Regions from separate parts of the Homo sapiens genome. Here regions 2 and 3 are each linked to region 1. Evidence: promoter capture Hi-C in 16 types of primary human blood cells and fetal thymus (Javierre and others, 2016). All regions are on one chromosome and are shown on one strand. Each heading gives the region's core, a stretch centred on a gene start or on the middle of the fragment in contact. The rest is flanking DNA. Distances are from core to core; before and after follow the strand shown. Region 1 holds the start of SIGLEC14 (sialic acid binding Ig like lectin 14). Region 2 overlaps ETFB (electron transfer flavoprotein subunit beta). Region 3 overlaps VSIG10L (V-set and immunoglobulin domain containing 10 like).

Region 1 (2,870 bases), core at 1-2,500:
TGGAGTGCAGTGGTGCGATCTCGGCTCACTGCAAGCTCCACCTCCCGGGTTACGCCGTCCTCCTGCCTCAGCCCCCCCAGTAGCTGGGACTACAGGCGCCCGCCACCACGCCCGGCTAATTTTTTGTATTTTTAGTAGAGACGGGGTTTCACCATGTTAGCCAGGACGGTCTTGATCTCCTGACCTCGTGATCCACCCGCCTCGGTCTCCCAAAGTGCTGGGATTACAGGCGTGAGCCACTGCGCCCGGCCTTCTTTTTTTACTGTTCTTCGTGGAGCAGGGGTATGCATAAGCAGTGTGCCCAGAGGAGCCCCCACTAGGATTTTTGACTTACCTTCTCATCCTAAGAGTTTATCCTTTGCTGTATCTCCAGCTCCTAAAACAGGGGGCCTGGTGCACCATAGGCGCCCATGAAGCATCAGTTGAATGAGTGAATTCTCGGGGCCAGACACTGTCCTAAGCACTTTACACATGAGACCTCACTGAATCCCCACACAGCAATTCTATTATTGTCTGCATTTTTCAGCTGAGCAAACTGAGGCACAGAGAGGGTAGGTAACTTTTGTAAAGTTCAACAGCCGGTAGGTGAGGGGTCTGGGTTCACACTTGGTATTCCATATCCTCAACGTTCACATTTCAAATGCCCGGCTCTCAAGCCTCATCTGGCTGTCAACATCAGGGATGGGGTCTGACGCTGCCTGGGACAAGGACAAGGATGAGATGAGGTTCCCAAATCCAACTGGTGGTGGGGACCACATCTCTCTTGACTGCTAAGGACCCGGTCATGTCCACCTGATGTGTTTGTCCCTGACAACTTGCCTTCCCTCTGGAAAGAGGAAAGTCTTCCCCACCTGAAACCCCCAGCGTGTGCTTCCCTCACCACAGCTCCTATCATGTCATAAAGGATTTATTCTCCCATCTCGCTGAGGGTCCCGAGGCCCTGACTCCCAGGGAGCTGGCCAAGTGGTGTTCTCCTTCCTATGTAGACAAAGGTGCATAAGGAAAGTGCTGCAGCTATGGGACCTGGTGACCTCAGGAGTCTAGACTTACAAGTCTGGACAAGCCCCTCTGGGGGCCTCAGTATCTTCACCATCGGCGTCCAGTGGGGGTGGGAGCAGAATGGCTTCCCAGCCCCAGCCTCACCCCAACAGCACGTGATGCCCAAGTTCCCCTTCTGTGCGCGTCCACAGCTCTCACTCACCCTCCGGCTTCCTGTCGGGGCTTTCTCAGCCCCACCCCACGTTTGGACATTTGGAGCATTTCCTTCCCTGACAGCCGGACCTGGGACTGGGCTGGGGCCCTGGCGGATGGAGACATGCTGCCCCTGCTGCTGCTGCCCCTGCTGTGGGGGGGTGAGTGAGCTGAGGGAGGAGGGACAGGCACAGGGGTGAGAAGGGGGGCTGGAGCTGCAGCTGAGCTTCTGTGTCCCCCCAGGGTCCCTGCAGGAGAAGCCAGTGTACGAGCTGCAAGTGCAGAAGTCGGTGACGGTGCAGGAGGGCCTGTGCGTCCTTGTGCCCTGCTCCTTCTCTTACCCCTGGAGATCCTGGTATTCCTCTCCCCCACTCTACGTCTACTGGTTCCGGGACGGGGAGATCCCATACTACGCTGAGGTTGTGGCCACAAACAACCCAGACAGAAGAGTGAAGCCAGAGACCCAGGGCCGATTCCGCCTCCTTGGGGATGTCCAGAAGAAGAACTGCTCCCTGAGCATCGGAGATGCCAGAATGGAGGACACGGGAAGCTATTTCTTCCGCGTGGAGAGAGGAAGGGATGTAAAATATAGCTACCAACAGAATAAGCTGAACTTGGAGGTGACAGGTATGGCAGGAACCCTAGGAGAGGACCCTGGGACGTGGAGACCCCCGTATGAGAACAGGGACAGGAGTTGGGCAGGGGCGGCTGGAGGAGGTGTAGGACTTGGGGCAGGTCGGGGCCTGAGGCCTGGCCACTCTCGGGGTCACACCTTACGTCCTCAAGCCCCTGGGGCCCAGGTATCTCCCTGTCTCCTCCTCAGCCCTGATAGAGAAACCCGACATCCACTTTCTGGAGCCTCTGGAGTCCGGCCGCCCCACAAGGCTGAGCTGCAGCCTTCCAGGATCCTGTGAAGCGGGACCACCTCTCACATTCTCCTGGACGGGGAATGCCCTCAGCCCCCTGGACCCCGAGACCACCCGCTCCTCGGAGCTCACCCTCACCCCCAGGCCCGAGGACCATGGCACCAACCTCACCTGTCAGGTGAAACGCCAAGGAGCTCAGGTGACCACGGAGAGAACTGTCCAGCTCAATGTCTCCTGTGAGTGGTGCTGGGGACACAGCTGAGTCCCCAAGGGCAGTGGGAGTGAGGGGGGTGTGTGTGTGTGTGTGTGTGTGTGTGTAGAAGAGAGAGAGAGAAAGAGAATGATAACCAGGGAAAACTCGTGTGTGGGCAGGAAGGACAGCGGTCCCCACCTGGTGGGTTTCTGTGGCCCCTCCTTGGGTCCCTCCCGGGACCACGCCCATCCCTCTTGTCACCTCTGAAGCTGGTGCTGTATCTTTCTATCCCAGATGCTCCACAGAACCTCGCCATCAGCATCTTCTTCAGAAATGGCACAGGCACAGGTAGGAAAGACCCTCTTCCCTCTGGGGCTGTGATGGGAGCCTTCTATTAGCTCAGGGTTCAGCATTGGGAGAGGAGACCCTCCCTCACCCCTCAGCCCCTGGGTCTGGGTCCTTCCTGCTCCCAACCCCCCAATCCCAGTCACTAAGATCTTGCACGAACAGACCTAGTATTTCTTTTGGCTTCTCCCTTTTCTCTGCTCTCTTTTTCAGATTTATTTTTTCATTGTGAGAAAATACACATAGCACAAAATTTGTCATCTTAGCCATTTTAA
Region 2 (2,873 bases), core at 1-2,500, 290 kb after region 1:
CACTCCATGAACCCCTTCTGTGAGATCGCGGTGGAGGAGGCTGTGCGGCTCAAGGAGAAGAAGCTGGTGAAGGAGGTCATCGCCGTCAGCTGTGGGCCTGCACAGTGCCAGGTGATGAAGGTCTTGGGGAGGGGGCTGGACTCCTGGGTCTGACGGAGGAGGGGCTGGGACCTGGACTCCTGGGTCTGAGGGAGGAGGAGGCTGGAAGTCTGGACCCCTGGGTCTGAGGGAGGATGGGCTGATAGCCTGGATTCCTGGGTCTGAGGAAGAAGGGGATGGGGGCCTGGACTCCTGGGTCTGAGGAAGGAGGGGCTGGGGGCCTGGACTCTTGGGTCTGAGGAAGGAGGGGATGGGGCCCTGGACTCCTGGGTCTGAGGAAGAAGGGGATGGGGGCCTGGATTCCTGGGTCTGAGGAAGGAGGGGATGGGGCCCTGGACTCCTGGGTCTGAGGAAGGAGGGGCTGGGACCTGGACTCCTGGGTCTGAGGGAGGAGGAGGCTGGAAGTCTGGACCCCTGGGTCTGAGGGAGGATGGGCTGATAGCCTGGATTCCTGGGTCTGAGGAAGGAGGGGATGGGGGCCTGGACTCCTGGGTCTGAAGAAGGAGGGGATGGGGGCCCGGACTCCTGGGTCTGAGGAAGGAGGGGATGGGGGCCCGGACTCCTGGGTCTGAGGAAGGAGGGGATGGGGGCCCGGACTCCTGGGTCTGAGGAAGGAGGGGATGGGGGCCCGGACTCCTGGGTCTGAGGAAGGAGGGGATGGGGGCCCGGACTCCTGGGTCTGAGGAAGGAGGGGATGGGGGCCCGGACTCCTGGGTCTGAGGAAGGAGGGGATGGGGGCCTGGACTCCTGGGTCTGAGGAAGGAGGGGATGGGGCCCTGGACTCCTGGGTCTGAGGAAGGAGGGGCTGCGAGCCAGACTCCTAGGTCCCCCTGAGGATAGCAGCCAAGTCAAGCCCCTCTGTCCTTGGCAGGAGACGATTCGTACCGCCCTGGCCATGGGTGCAGACCGAGGTATCCACGTGGAGGTGCCCCCAGCAGAAGCAGAACGCTTGGGTCCCCTGCAGGTGGCTCGGGTCCTGGCCAAGCTGGCAGAGAAGGAGAAGGTGGACCTGGTGCTGCTGGGCAAACAGGTAGCTGTGGTCAGCCCTCCCTGTGCCCCCTTGCTCATCCCTGCTCGGGAGGAGGGTGGTGGAGATACGGGGTGAGACAGCAGCTGGCCAGGCCCAGGGCATTCACCACTCCAGGCTGAGCAGCTTGGGACTTTGCTGACCCTTCTGACAGAGAGTTTGAGCAGGGAGGACAGAGTCCCTCTGGGTGTTAGAAAGATCCTCTTGGGCCAGGCACGGTGGTTTACGCCTGTAATCTCAGCACTTTGGGAGGCCGAGGCCAGTGGATCACTTGAGGTCGAGAGTTTGAGATTAGCGTGGCCAACATGGTGAAACCCCATCTCTTCTAAAAATATAAAAATTAGCCGGGTGTGGTATCACCTGCCTGTAATCCCAGCTACTTGGGAGGCTGAGGCATGAGAATCACTGGAACCTGGGAGGCGGAGGTTGCAGTGATACAAGATCGCACCACTGCACTCCAGGCACCACTGCACTCCTGCCTGGGAGCAGAGCGAGACTCTGTCTCAAAAAGAAAAAAAGAAGAAAGATCCTTTTGGGTGAGTTTAGAGGCTGGGAGGCCGAGGTGATGGTCACATGGGGGAGAATGAGGCCTCAGCCAAAGGTGACAGGACAGAGCAGAGACATGATGTGGCAGGAGAGACTGGGCTTAGCATGGGGAGGGAGGGCAGGGAGGAGGCAAGGACAGTGCCTGGGTCTGCCTTGGTAACACAGGTAGGAAACCCAGGAAGAACAGGAGGTTAGAGGAGGATCCTACAAGGGGAGTGTGAAGAGCCCAGGAGACATCGATGCAGGTTCAGGAGACAGGCCTGGGCTTGAAACAAAGACTTGAGAATTTTGGAGGGCACTGGGGAGCTATGGGAGTTCTATGAGCAGAAGAGGGGTGGGATCAGCACTAGGTGCAGAAAGAGCCCCCCTGGGCTTTGAGAATGGACTGGAATGGGAAATTGGAGGCCAGGAGTTAGGGAAGGAGGTTAGGGCTGGGTGAGGACCCGACCAGAACCTTCCCTGCCACACTGGTGCTCCCCACTGAGATAGGGGTACATGGAGCTCATCTGTTCCCCCAGGAGACCCTCGGGCACCACCTCTGCTCAGGGGTAGCTCATCTCATTTGAGGGCAAACCTCATGGCCTCAACCAGGGAAGGGGCAGAAGAGGGACGTCAGAAGAGCCACAGGCAGATGGGAGTGAGAAGAGGCAGGGAATTAGGGATGAGGCTGAGAAGGAAGGCCAAAGACTGCAAGGTATGTCAAGCAGAGCACGGAGACAGCAGAGCACAGCAGGCTCAGGTAGAGCTGGGGCCCCCGGAGAGAGATGGGGATCCCAGGGCCAGGTCAGTTCTGGGACAAAGAGGAGGCTGATGGGTCCAGGTAGGTCACTGGGTGTCCTGCCCAGCCCTGAGAAAGTCAGAAGAAAACAGAGAGAGATTATCAACAGCAGGGGCATCAGAGTACAGATCAGTCAACTGTGGCCGAAGGGCCTACCCGGAGAACAGGCCAAAAAGGCAGGGCCTGGGTGGGGCTGCAGAGGCCGAGGTGCTGGAAGCATGGCCTTTGCAGCCCCCTGCATTTGCTGGTCGTTCTCAGACTCCGATGTCCTACCTGTCCTGGGCCAGGGACAGTTCCTGGGGCCAGGGCCTCCAGCTGGGGAAATGCCGGATGAACTGGTCAGGATGCTGTTTGTTCTAGGAAGCAGATTCACAACTCAAACTGGCTTAAGCCAGAAAGCGAATTTATTATCTCACGTAAATC
Region 3 (2,700 bases), core at 43-2,542, 310 kb after region 1:
ACCACGGTCACTCAGTAACTGTTAAATGAGTTGAGAGTGCTGGGGTCCCACATTCCTGGGTTCTGGGAGGGGAGGGACAGTGGGGGCCGGACTCCTGGGTCCCAGCACAAAGTTAGGGGGCTTAGGAAACTTGGGTCCAACCTTGGTTCCTGTTCCCCTTCTCTTTCTTCTCTTTGTCTCTTCCAGGCCCCACGTTGAGCCATGGGGCCATCGCTGGCATCGTCCTGGGCTCCCTGCTGGGCCTGGCGCTGCTAGCCGTACTTCTCCTCCTTTGCATCTGCTGCCTGTGCCGCTTTCGTGGTGAGCAAGGGGACTGGGGAAGGGGCAACCATGACCAACGGGGAGGGACCCTAGAAAGAGGCCTATGGAAGACCTGGCTGAGGCAATCAGTGCCGTCATAGGTCATCCATCCTGCCCTCCTACCTCCAAATCAGCCAATCAGCATAAGGCTCCGCCTCTCCAACCAGCTTCCCTTGCTATTGGCTGGGTTGGCATGTTGGGGCAGCCAATCACGTGTTCCTGCTTCTCTTCTGCCTCTCAATCAGGAAAGACTCCTGAGAAAAAGAAGCATCCTTCTACCTTGGTCCCCGTGGTCACCCCCTCAGAAAAGAAGATGCATAGTGTGACCCCAGTGGAGATTTCATGGCCTCTGGACCTCAAAGTCCCTCTGGAGGACCACAGCTCAACTAGGGCCTACCAAGTGAGTGTGGGTGCCCTCATTTCCTCCTGGAATCGGGGCGGAACTTCTTGTATTACAGTCAGGGAGATGAGAGGGTCTCAATTATCTAACTCCAGTTTTACTTGTTAGTTTACAGTCTGTATAACTTTATCCTTTTTAAAAATGCATCAAAGTTGGACAGAGCTTCCCGCCCAACTTTGATGTATATTAAAATAAGAGTGAATTCCAGTTTCTTCTCCAAAGGAGGGAAATAGGATCTCTCTCTCTCTTTTTTTTTTTTTTGGAGACAGAGTCTCACTTTGTTGCCCAGGTTGGACTGCAGTGGTGCAATCTCGACTCACTGCAGCCTCCGCCTCCTGGGTTCAAGCGATTTTCCTGCCTCAGCCACTTGAGTAGCTGGGATTACAGGCAAGCACCACAACGCCTGACTGATTTTTGTATTTTTAGTACAGACGGGATTTCACCATGTTAGGCAGGCTGGTCCCGAACTCCTAACCTCAAGTGATCCGCCCACCTTGGCCTCCCAAAGTGCTGGGATTACAGGCATGAGCCACTACGCCCAGCCCCTCCATTTTTCTTTCCCATAAAAATTGGGCAAGGCCCATTTTTCTCTATGAAGTGGGGTACAGTTACCTCATTCCCCATAAAAGAAGGATTGTTGTGACTGGGTGTGATAGTTCATGCCTGTAATCCCAGCACTTCGGGTGGTTGAGGAGAGAGAATCACTTGAGCTCAGGAGTTCGATACCAGCTTGGGCAACATAGGGATACCCCATCTCTACAAAAAATTTTAAAATTAGTCGGGCATGGTGGCACGTACCTGTAGTCCCAGCTACTAGGGAGGCTGAGGTGGGAGGATTGCTTGGGCCTGGGAGGTCAAGGCTGCAGTGAGCTCTAACGGTGCCACTGTACTCTAGCCTGGATGACAGAGTGAGACCCTGTCTCAAAATAAATAAATAAATAAATAAATAAAAAATAACAACTGGGTTGGGTTGTTGGCTGGCTTCGCTCCACCAAGGATAGCCAGGCATTTTTTTTCCCCTCTCCAAATGGAGGGTTCCCAGATAATCTCTAAAAAGTTCAAGCAAGAGCTAGAAAAAGTTAGGCGGGTGAGTTATGTCACATCCAGAGTACCTACTGAGTTCTCCCCTCACCCCACCTCTCTCTTCCAGGCACAGACCCCAGTTCAGTTGTCTCTGTAGGCGGAGGCTCAAAGACTGTTCGCGCAGCCACACAGGTGTGATCAGAGCCAGTGGTCTGCCCTGCACAGGGCGTTTTGGGCCAGAACTTCCTATTTCACTCCAGCAGCAGCCAGGGCCTGCTATGACTGAGGGTTGGACCCTGAAAGTGGGACTTTCTGTCTCCCTCTCTTGCTGCAGAAGAAGAGTCTTCCTGTATTTGTGCAAGTAAGGAGATGTGACTTCTTGGCTGGGAAACTCTTGCTGATCTAACTGTGTGGTTTGCACAACCTCCAAGCCTCTGCAGCAGACAGGCAGGGCTTGCTGTGTTGCTCTGAGCTAGAGAGGGAGCTTGGCCATGTTCTCTGAAAAGGTCCCCTTACATTCACTTTGCCACCTGTAGGCCACACCCCATCCAGCTCCCAGCATCTTCATCTTAAAACAGATCAGATCATGTCACTCTTCTCTTTAAACGCTTCTACGGCCTGTGCATTTCCCTTCAGATATTATCCAAACTCATCGTCGTGACCTTCAAAACCTTGTGGTCTGGCCTCTGTTGGCCTCCCTGACCTCCCCTCCCAATTCTTTCTCTGCCCCCGGACTCCAGTATCACAGTCTGTCTCTCAGCCACAATTTATTTTGCCCCTAGAGTTTGCTGTGCTTATAACACTTCTTTTTCCCATATGTCATTCATTTCTCAAGTCTAAGAGTAGCAGTTACCATCTTAGACGACCGTTCCCTTACCCCTCCCTTAGTCTTGGGTTAAGTCCCAGAATCCTTGAATTTGCCGTTCCTGATACATAAATATGTAATTTCTTGTGTGGCCTGAGACTCTCTCTCTAAA

What was found. The method cuts DNA at HindIII sites, captures the fragments that hold promoters and counts their contacts. A CHiCAGO score of 5 or more calls a contact.
Region 2: a fragment that was not itself captured here is called in contact with the fragment with the promoter of SIGLEC14 in region 1 in 6 of 17 cell types (total B cells, megakaryocytes, naive B cells and 3 more); the score reaches 12.1 in total B cells.
Region 3: a contact is called between a fragment that was not itself captured here and the fragment with the promoter of SIGLEC14 in region 1, in 12 of 17 cell types (naive B cells, megakaryocytes, activated CD4 T cells and 9 more). The highest score is 15.4, in naive B cells.

Annotation. Positions count from the first base shown.
Region 1 is chr19:51,645,205-51,648,074 of GRCh38, reverse strand. It overlaps SIGLEC14 (sialic acid binding Ig like lectin 14), which reads left to right and starts at 1,250. Exons shown (of 7, transcript NM_001098612.3): 1 at 1,250-1,352; 2 at 1,435-1,818; 3 at 2,015-2,293; 4 at 2,545-2,598. The coding sequence starts at 1,316. The HindIII fragment of the contact is 8,795 bases long and covers 1-2,870 here.
Region 2 is chr19:51,351,388-51,354,260 of GRCh38, reverse strand. It overlaps ETFB (electron transfer flavoprotein subunit beta), which reads left to right. Exons shown (of 6, transcript NM_001985.3): 2 at 1-111; 3 at 971-1,129. Among named protein-coding and RNA genes, the nearest start is that of VSIG10L, 11 kb to the right of the region's middle. The HindIII fragment of the contact is 4,167 bases long and covers 1-2,873 here.
Region 3 is chr19:51,331,791-51,334,490 of GRCh38, reverse strand. It overlaps VSIG10L (V-set and immunoglobulin domain containing 10 like), which reads left to right. Exons shown (of 10, transcript NM_001163922.3): 8 at 187-300; 9 at 546-700; 10 at 1,851-2,700. The coding sequence ends at 1,880. Among named protein-coding and RNA genes, the nearest start is that of VSIG10L-AS1, 6.9 kb to the left of the region's middle. The HindIII fragment of the contact is 3,891 bases long and covers 1-2,700 here.